Regions from separate parts of the Homo sapiens genome. Here region 1 is linked to region 2. The links are contacts of gene promoters, found by promoter capture Hi-C in blood cells and fetal thymus (Javierre and others, 2016). All regions are on one chromosome and are shown on one strand. Each heading gives the region's core, a stretch centred on a gene start or on the middle of the fragment in contact. The rest is flanking DNA. Distances are from core to core; before and after follow the strand shown.

What was found. Contacts are between HindIII fragments. The CHiCAGO score rates a contact against its expected background, and 5 or more counts as called.
Region 1: a fragment that was not itself captured here is called in contact with the fragment with the promoter of IGSF21 in region 2 in 1 of 17 cell types (naive CD4 T cells); the score reaches 5.3 in naive CD4 T cells.

Annotation. Positions count from the first base shown.
Region 1 is chr1:17,930,293-17,935,208 of GRCh38, forward strand. No RefSeq gene overlaps it. Among named protein-coding and RNA genes, the nearest start is that of LINC01654, 130 kb to the right of the region's middle. The HindIII fragment of the contact is 2,351 bases long and covers 817-3,167 here.
Region 2 is chr1:18,105,450-18,110,600 of GRCh38, forward strand. IGSF21 (immunoglobin superfamily member 21) reads left to right here and starts at 2,349. Exons shown (of 10, transcript NM_032880.5): 1 at 2,349-2,749. The coding sequence starts at 2,680. The HindIII fragment of the contact is 15,130 bases long and covers 1-5,151 here.

The sequences.
Region 1 (4,916 bases), core at 742-3,241, 180 kb before region 2:
CAAGGCTGGTGAGTAGAACAGCCCATGGTGAAATGGTTTTCTCTCCTTGCTCCCCATTGGGATGAATGGCCCTTCCTTCCTCCCTGTCTCCTGGCCCAGCCCCTAGTGTGTTGGTTTGTTCCTGGGTGATGGGGAGGATTCTCCACTTCCCGGTCACCCCTGGGATGTGTTGCTCAGAAAAGTCCCCTCTTTCTGGCCTCTCCTGGCCGCTGCTTCCTGCTCCAGCTCTGATTCTTGCCTTCATTTCTGCATCTGGACAGCAGGCTGGGCCAAGCTTGCCAGTGGGGAGTGGTGGCTATGTGGGTGGGCTCTCAGGCAAGTGATTTTGCCTCCCTGAGCCTCAGTTTCCTCCACTGTAAAATGGAGATAATAAAGATGGTGCCTTCCATGAGAGAGATGCATTTAAGGCACTTAGAACAAGATTCAGACACAACGCAAGTGCTTATTAAATGAGAGCTGTTACTATTTCTGTTCCCTGTCTCGGGGACTGGCTGGGAGGCCTCATTCCAGGCCCAGGGGATCTGGCAGATCCCAGCCCAGGACTCCAGGAAGAGCAGGAAGGTGACAACAACCACATGGCTGCCAGTGGAGAGGCTTCTCTATGCTCTATGACCCACCCGGCCCTGCAGATAGAGAAGCCAGCAAGACCTGGGAGGTCCTGGCCCTCGTGAAGTTCACATTCTAGTAGCAAGAGGAAACAGACAGCTAACACATAAGCTCCTCAGTCCTGACCCACTGCCTCCTCCATGTATCACCGTCTGCCTTACTGCAAAGTTGATGTATCTGGTGTGCTCTCTCTCCAAACACCAGACTCCAAGCTTCCTGCGGGCACAGACTCAGACTTGCTCATGCTGCCTACCCAGCACCTGGTATAGTGCCTGGCACAGAGCAGGTGCTTCATAAATACTTGTTGAAGGAATGGATGGCTGCATGCAGGCAGGATGGCCTTGCAAGTCCTTCCTGGGGCATGGGATGGCCACACTCTGTGGCTTTCAGTCTCCTGACTCTGGGAGGCTCTTCCTTGCTGTAAAGTGGCAAGGCTGATCTATTCTCATTGCTCCTGGTCTGACTTTCAGCTGGGGCTGAAGTGCTTGACCAGATCCGCCTCCATGGCTGTAATTCCTCTCCCTGCCACCCAGCCTGCCCAGGGTGACAGAGGAGAGCCAGTGGCTTCCCTCTGCCTCTGCCTTCCCTCCAGCACTCTGAGTGGTAGACTCTGCCCTCTCCTCCCTGCATGCACCTCATAGCATTGGTGAATCCTGTGCCTGCCATTCTATGTGGAGTCTTGGTACCCAAAGGTGAATTCCCAAAAACAGACCTGGTTTCAACCCACCATTTACCCACATGTGACCTTGGCCGAGCCCCTTCATCACTCTGAGCCTCGGTTTTCTCATCTAGATAATGAATAGTAGCAATTCCAATCCCAAAGGATTGGTGTGAGGGTTAAGTCTGGAGACAGTGTCCCATGGTGGTTGAAAACCTCACCTTTGAGTATGTTAGAGGGGTTTCAAAAACAGGTGTGGACAATTCTTAGCTGCGTGACTTTGGGCAAGTGACAGTATTCTACTAAACATCAAGTTATTTCTATAGAATGGGATAATAGTAAAAATAATATTGAATCCATTATTTTTCTGTGATGATTAAAAGAGGTAAGGCATGGAAAGTTTATTAGTCCATTCTCACGCTGCTATAAGGACATACCTGAGACTGGATAACTTATAAAGAAAAAGAGATTTAATGGACTCACAGTTCCACATGGCTGGGGAGGCCTCACAATCATGGCGGAAGGTGAAGGAGGAGCAAAGGCACATCTCACATGGCAGCAGGCAAGAGAGCTTGTGCAGGGGAACTGCCCTTAATAAAACCGTCAGATCTCAGAGACTTATTCACTATCATGAGAACAGCACAAGGAAAACCCGCCCCCACGATTCAATTACCTCCCACCAGGTCCCTCCCACGACACATGGGGATTATGGGAGCTACAGTTCAAGATGAGATTTGGGCAGGGACACAACCAAACTGTATCAGAAAGCATTTGGTACTGTGCTTGGCACATAAACAGTTTACGCCTGTTGGTTCTTCTTTGTCTCTTTGGCTGGGCATTTAGTAGGTGCAAAAATAACAGTAAATACTTCAACTTGCTCTCTTTAGAAGTCAAGGCTTTTGTTGTTGTTGTTGTTGTTATGAAGATGAATATTGGGAAGATTTGAATTTGCCAATTTCTGCTGACCTAGGAGGTTTACTGTCCTGGGTGTGGCTCTCCTTCTGTAATTGTCAAAAGAGCTCTTCTCGTCAAATGATTATCGACAAGAGCAGAATCCTGTCAAACAGTGTTTAGAGTCCTTCCACACCTCTTATCTCACTGTGTCCTTCACTATCCCTATTTGACAGGAGAGAACATCAAAACCCAGAGAGGTTTGGCAAGTTGTCTGGGGTCACACAGCACATGGATACAAACAACACTTCCAGGCTCTTGTTAAGTGATCAGAGTGCCAGGCCACCAGCATCACCGTTATCACCATTACCATCCCCTGTATGTGAATGGGATGTTAAGGTCTTTCAGCTATTTCCATAACTCCATCTCTCATGATCCTTTCAACAGCCCTGTGAGCTGTGCCGGACAGGACCAATCACACGTTACTGCCGTTTTTCAAAGGGGAAAACCTGAGACTCAGAGGAGGCTCAGACAGGCCTAAGGTCACAAAGGGCCAGTGGCCTCATGACACCCAGCCTGGTGCTGTGGCCTCCCACGATGGTGTCGGCCTGGCTTCCCTGTGTCCCCCACCTCCCACTCTTCAGCTTCTTTCCCACCCATCCACCCACTCCCAAACTCCACTCTGAGAGGCCTCAGCTGGGAGCATTGAAGGGCTGGGCCCCTTTTATGAGACCTCAGAAACTGCATTATGGGCCTGAGACCCCCAAACACTAACATGCAATGATTTTTTCCTTCTCTAGAGGAGCAGAAAAGATTCATAGCTTGCGACTATTGACTCTGCTTTTAACCAAGTTGCGTAGAAGCAACGAGTGTCACTTCTAGGAAGATGGATGATGTCTCTGAAGCAGGGGATGAGAGCCCAGAGGTTTGCGACTTCCCTGGTAAAAGTTTTTTCTTGTTTAGAAATCACTTTGGGGTTCGAAAAATATGGATCCATTGGAGAACGTGGTGAAGCTTGTCATGGCGAGTTTTCAGTGAATTAAAGGAGCCGGAATTTAATGTCATTCTGGCCGCGTCATTTCTTCCCCAAGGAGGGCAATATACGAGGTCAGACCAGCTCCCTACACTGGGAACGTGCACTTGATCAAGTCCCTGACCAGCTCTGAGCCCTGGAACCCACTAGGCTTTTCCGAGGATTAAACGAGTTGATGTAGACAAAGCACTTGAAACCCTGCCCAGCACATAGCAGGCTCAAGGTCAATGTAAACCATTTATTATTACTATTCAGAGTATTCCTAGGACACCAGGTGGAGGGGAGGAGCCGTGCAGATAATATAGTTATATTTGAGTTTGGTGGAGGGAATAAAAGGAGAACAAATCTCTCCTGTCTCTGTTTCTGTCTCTCAGTGTCCTGACCCTTGCATCCCAATTGCATTAAAAAAAAACAAAACAAAACAAAAAAAAGAACAACAACAACAAAAAGCAAAACAGTAAGAATAGCAACAACAACAAAAGCAGAGCTCAGCTCAGGGAGGGGCCTCCATGTCTGGGCAGGTTCTCAGACAGAAGCCAGGGAGAAAACAGCCCAGAGGTGAAGCAGCAGTGCCAACACCAATTTCACAAACCAGCTGTTTCACCGGCCGTGGAATGTCATGGGTCTCTGGACTCCGGGCTGGGAGCCCATAGCTGGGGCCTGCAGTGCTGTGTTTAAACATCATGGGCTGTGATGGGCTTGTGTGCAGGGAGTGGAGGGTCTGGACACACTCAGGAAGTGTCATCTCTGAGCCTGGGGCACTCTATCTTGTCAGGAGAGACCTGAGCTGATGAGGCTTCCCCATTAGCTCCATCACCGGCTCCTCTGGCTTTGAGAGGGAGCGGCTGCATCTCCCCTCCAGGATCAAAGCCACCCCTCTCTTTCTTTCCTATTCCTGCCTTTTGTCTGCTCTTCTGTCTTGCCCAGAAATGATCTGCGGGAGAGCAGGGCTGTGTCAGGGAGTGGGGCTGAGGTGTCTACTCCAAGCTTTTGTGCTATCCAGACCCCTTCCTGCGCACCCGCACCTGCTGCCAGGCTGGGACAACCTCCTTCTGGATCCAAGGGCTCTCAGCCGGAGGGCACAGGGCCATGACAACGTGTCATTAGAATGACTTTCAGAAAGTGCCTATTATGTGCCAGGCACCTACCTGCAGTGTCTCTTTCAATTCTCCCAGTAGCCTGCTGAGGAAGGTGTGATGATCCCACTGTAGAGATGAGAAAACTGAGGCTCAGAGAGATAAAACAAATTGTCCCAAATCATAGTTTGAAAGAAACAGAGTCAGGATTTGAACCCAGCTATGTGTGATTCCATTCTTAACCACGACACTGCCACGTGCTTTATAAAATGGAAGGCGTGGCATGGTGGCACGCACCTGTAGTCCCAGCTACCTGGGAGGCTGAGGTGGGACAATCACTTGAGCTTAGGAGGCCAAGGCTGCAGTGAGCTATAAATGCACCACTGTACTTCAGCCTGGGCAACAGAGGGAGATCTTGTCTCTAAATAAATAAATTAGTTAAAATAAAATAAGATGGGGAATATTGAACAAATTTAGTTTTATTTTTAGTTAAAAAGAAAATCCCTCCCACTTCCCTTTTTAAAACAGATTTCAAAGTTTCCCCACTCGTTAATTTATTTGATCCTATGAGAAGGGCTGGGAAATTGCTTTCCCACTTTAGTGATGAGAAAGGTGAGGCCCAGAGAGGTGAAGTGGCCACCTGAGCCCCTGC
Region 2 (5,151 bases), core at 1,099-3,598:
GGTATTTATTGAGGATCCACTATGTGTCAGGCACTGGCTAGGCATAATAATAATTATAATACAGGGTGATGTTAAAGAGAATTGAGGTGATTCAGAAGTCTTGGGGCTGAAGGAGATCTCCAACACACCAGCCCCAATCCTTGGTCCTAGGAAGCAACCCTCCCTTGGCTGTTAGGCCTGCTTTCCTCCTCACTAGCATATCCTCAGATGCCATTCTCTAGCTCCTTCTGCTGGCTCTCTTTTCTAGCTGGTGTGAACCATGGCTGGGAAGAAACATCACTAAGGGGCCCTGGAATCCCACCTGCTCCCTGGCCCTCATCTCCAAGGGCTGGGCTGCAGGGAGCGCAGCCAGGAAGCCCCACCAATTCAGGGTTCACCTGAGGAACTGATGCTGTCCACCTGCCTAGCTGCACGCCGATTTGCAGCTGGGGCCAGAGAGTAGGAATGCCCACACAGCGATGCTTGGCATTTCCCTGCACAACTCAGACCAGCACAAGGAACCGCATGAACCTGATGCTGTTCCCCAGCCAGGGAGCCCCTTCCACAGAGGATTTAGAACCTGGGATGGACTTTTGGGTTTGTTGACTTTTTCTTGGGTCAGAGTGGGGAGGGAGGGCCAGGGAGGAGGCAGTAAGGGACTGTGCCCTGCAGCCTGAGAAGAAGGTGAGGGGGAGAGGTGACCTCAAGCTGACCCTCAGCAGCCTGGAGAAGGGGAGACCTGGGTGGATGCGAGTGAGAGGGAGCAAAGAACAGCAGCCAAAGGGAGAAGAAAGGACCTAAGACTCCAGTGTTCATCAAGTGTTCAAGCCATATGCAGTCCAATCAACCTGGAACCAATTAGTCTGATTCACAAAAAAAAAAAAAAAAAAAAAAAAAAAAAATCCCACTTAGGGACAAACTGTAATCAAACACCTATTTATAAGGGTTTATTATGATCATTATTATTATTTTACTGAGAGGATCATTCTAAAGCCTGTCAGGTGAACGTATGCTTTCAGATCTTCATAAATGCAAATCGCTCCTTCTGGGGTGGGTGAGCAAGCTGAGCCGCAGAGCTGCCTTGGGAGGCGATGGGGTGAGGTTCCAGAGGGCAGGAGGAGGGAGCAGTTCACTTTCATGGACATCTCTGCACAAAGCTCACCCAGAGGCAGCCCAGCAACCACCCATTGCCCACCCCACTCCCTACACTCCTCTCAGAGGGCTGCTGGAGATGGAACTGGCTATAGACCCATTGCCCATGTAGGTAAACGATGCAACAGCCTGACTCAGCAACCTGCCAGAGCTAGGGAAGCTGGAGATTCTCCATAGAAGGCCTGGGTAAAGGGACCCACCTGAGTTCTGAGCAGGTTTTGCCCCTGGTCGTGCTGGTTTTTCTGGGCTTTGCCAATCTTCTGGGTCCCTACCAATGGTGAAATTCTATCTCCTGAACTTCCTCATCTAACCACATCCCCAGTCCACTCCAAGGGCTAGAGTACCCCTCCCCTTCATCCTCGCAGGAGGCCTCAAAGTCCACCGCCAGGGCTGAGGCTCAATGGTGTGTGTGTGTGTGTGTGTGTGTGTGTGTGTGTGCTCGCGTGTGTGTTGGTGGGAGAGTAATGGTAACATACAAGTCCCAAACCTGTTCTTCTCGGACCTGGGAAGAAAAGCTGTCAGGTCTGGCAAAAAGGTGGAAACTTGGTCTCTGCCAGGAGGAAACAATCAGTTCCTCACCCTTCCTGGCTGGATCCTAGCACATGGGAAAAAGACAGAACACACCCCATTTCCGTGGGTCCCTGGGGGAAGGAGCAGCCGTAATTGGGGAAGTTTCAGAACATGGAAACCCCTTAATCTTGCCCAATGAGGGCATTCATCGTTGGCAAGGTCAGAACTCCAGAGCCACACCCTGCCTGCCCTGCTCCCAGGATGGCATCTTTCCCTCTCGGGAGGGAGGCTGCCTCCTTTCATCAGGCTGAGTAGCGGGGAGGGCGATGGTAATCCCGGGGATAGGAGGGGCTAGGTAAAGGCGGATCCGATGGAGCATAGCTTCCAGGGCGGGGTGTTGGGTCACCTGGGTAAGGGTTAAGAAGCTGGAGGCAGCAAGCCAGTTTTGAGTGAGGGGGGACCTGAGTGAGGGGAGAGGGGAGGTTAGGAGGGGGTGAGCTCTCCTTCTCCCTGCAATAAATCGGCTTAGCGGACGAGAGCCGAACAGCCCAGAAAGGATTAAAGAAAAGTCTGTATAATACGCGGAGAGCGCGGCGAGGGGAGGGCAAGGAGGGCGGGGGGGCGGGGAGAGGGGGAGGGACGGAGGGAGGGCGAGAGGAGGGGGGTGCTCGCGCCGCCGGGAGAGGCGAGCGCGAGGCAGAGAGCGCGATTCGGCTCCAAACTCCGGCGCTGCAGCCGATCGGACTCTGGGCCGCGGTGGGCACCGCGCGCAGCTAGGGAGCCGAGAACCGCGGCGAGCCCCGAGGACGCCCAGAGCGCGAGGGTCGCTGCGCCTCGCAGAGCCGGAGCCGAGTCGAGCCGGGCGCCCGGGCTGCCTGGCCGCGGCGGCATGGGGGCGCCCCCGCGGCTCTCCGCGCTGCCCGCCACCGCCTCGGCCAGTGGCCGGAGGCAGGAGCGCGTCTGAGCCCATGGCGAGGGGACCCGCCGCCACCGCCTCCACCCCCGCCGCCCCGCCACCGCCGCCAGCTCCCGGGCACCATGCGAACCGCCCCGAGCCTCCGCCGCTGCGTCTGCCTGCTGCTCGCCGCGATCCTGGACCTGGCGCGCGGTGAGTGCGCGGGCGCCTGGCGGGAGCCGAGCGGTGAACGTGCGCGGGGACGGGGTGCCGGGGGAGGGCGCTGGCCGGGGTCGCTCCGAGAGGCTCGGGCTACGAGCACCGGTCCTGCCCGGGGTCTGTGGAGCTGGTTGGCTCGATGAGGGAGGGAGGACGCCTCTTGGAGAGCGCTCATGGATTTGTGCCAGGGTGTGTGTGTGTGTGTAAATTGTGTGTCTTTGTTGTGTGTCTGGGTGAGGGTGTCCGGGAAGGAGCTGTGTGGGCAGAAGGTGCGGGAGTGTATTTAGAGATGCAAGTGTGTGTGTGCGTGTGTGTGTGATGGTGTGGGGTCTGCGTGTGAGTGAGCGAGGGTCTGGATGGGTGTTAGAGTGTCTGTGTCAGTTACATGGAGAAGGTGTGTGTGTGAGAGTGTGAGCGAATGTTGGGGGGAGGGTGTGAACATGTGCCACCTTCCCTGTGAGGGTGTGAAGTGTGTGAGCTTGTGTCACTGTGGGTGTGAGGTGTTAGGGGGTGGGTATGTGAGGTTTGGCGTTTCACGTGTGTCCCGAGTGTGCAGGTCTCTAGGGGTGTACGACAGCGGATTACTATTTCTGTGTGCACAGGAGATGGGACTGTGACACTGGACAAGAGTCTGCTTATGTGGGATGGGTGGGGGTGCAGGTGCCTGGGAGTCGTGGGCTTCATGGGGCTGGGAGTGTGTGTATGCGTGCCATGGAGCGTGTGGTTATCGTGTGCAGGGAGGTATGGACGCTTCCGGGGCTGGGGAGTTGTGAGCAGCTCAGTGTGTGTGTGTGTGTGTGTGTGTGTGTGTCCCGCCGTGTGGACTTGCTCCCGGGTTAGGCTAAGACAGCTAGAAGGAGGTTGAAGCCGAGCGGGTTCTCCGGAGCCAGTGAGAGGTGGCTCCGCAGCCCCAGGGTCCGCGGCCGGCCTCCCACCCAGTGCCGCCGCGTAGTGGGTCTTAAATGGAGCTGAACCCTTTCGCGCAGTGAGCAGAGAGCCAACGTGAGGCTAAAAGCCAGGAGGGAGGGAGGCGGGACCAGCGAAGAGCCGCAGGCACCGAGACTACAGGCTCCGCGTCCGGGATCCTCCTCGGAGCCTGGTGCCAACCTCAGCCTGGCTGGAGTCAGAGCCTGGCTCCGCCTCGGAGGGGAGCGGGACGCGAGGTGCCAAAAAGTCGTCTTTATGATCAATAAGGTCTCGACCCCGAGCCCCACTGGATGATAGAGGTGGGCATCACCTCTGTCCTATGCCATAGCCTTGTCCCAGCAGGAGGTGCCTACCTAGGCTCTGAGAGTGCCTGCCAGGAAGGGGTGCCCCCTTAAAAATAACCCCAACTCCTTCTACCCCGAAGTCCTTGGGGAGTGCTGGGTCTGCTGATGGGAGAAGCTGCAGAATTTGAGCCCGGAAGGTGGTCCTGACAGCGAGGGGGGAGGGGTTGGTGTAACCCAGAAGGAATGCAAACCCTGTACTTTGTTCCCCTACCCTTGGAACAAGAGACTTTCCTAAGTGGATCAAAATGTCCCCCCTCAACTTTGGGAGGAGGGCTCTAGAGGGAAAGGTTACATGGGGGAGGTCCTCGTTCCAGCGCCGCCGAGAGGGCACTGGGGTTTGTTGAAAGGCACTGGAGCCCTCACCTGGACATTGCAGGGGGCGGGGGTTGGAGGCTGGGGACCTAAGGTAAGCACCCCTTTCCCTGGGAATGCGCAGAACAGAGAGACGCGGCAGGGTGAAGGAGAGGACTGATGAGAAGGGCTTGTTGGGAAACCCTGGCTCCGTCAGGACCCCACCCTGCGAGCTCTCCCTGGAACCCGGGAGCAGGGTTCTTCTGGCTGCCCGGCTGCAGAGAGCTGACCCGGCATCCTGACGCCTCAAATCCCTTTGCCCGCCTCTGCGGGCTGCGGGAGGCGGGGGTTGGCGTGCCTGAGGGTGAGCGCATCTGGGCCGGTGCAGCCAGCGCGGCCTCGGAGCTCCGCTGCTCAGGATGAAGGAAGAGCGCAGACGCGGATCGCGAATGGGAAACTTTCCGCGTCTGGGGCGCAGAGGGAGATCCGAGGCAGCCGGGAGCCCTCTCTTCTCCGCAGAGGAGAGCACACGAGGGTGGGGTCCCTCCTTCCTCCTTCCAAGTCTGTGCCCAGAATGGGGGGCGGGGTGCGAGAAGAGTCCGTGAGAGACGCAAGAGGCGGGCTGTGCCGGAGGAGGGCGCCCTTCCTGGAGGTGGCCGAGAGAGGTGCACCTGGCAGCGGCTTTGCAGGGCCACCTGCCTCCGAGGGCGCAGAGAGGAGCAACCCGCGCCGGCCTTCACGAACGTACTGGCGGTCACTGCTCGGGGAGGGGCACGGCCAGAACGCCCTCGCCGGTTCTGCCCCTTTGGGTGGCAGAGCAAGGGTGCCCGACGC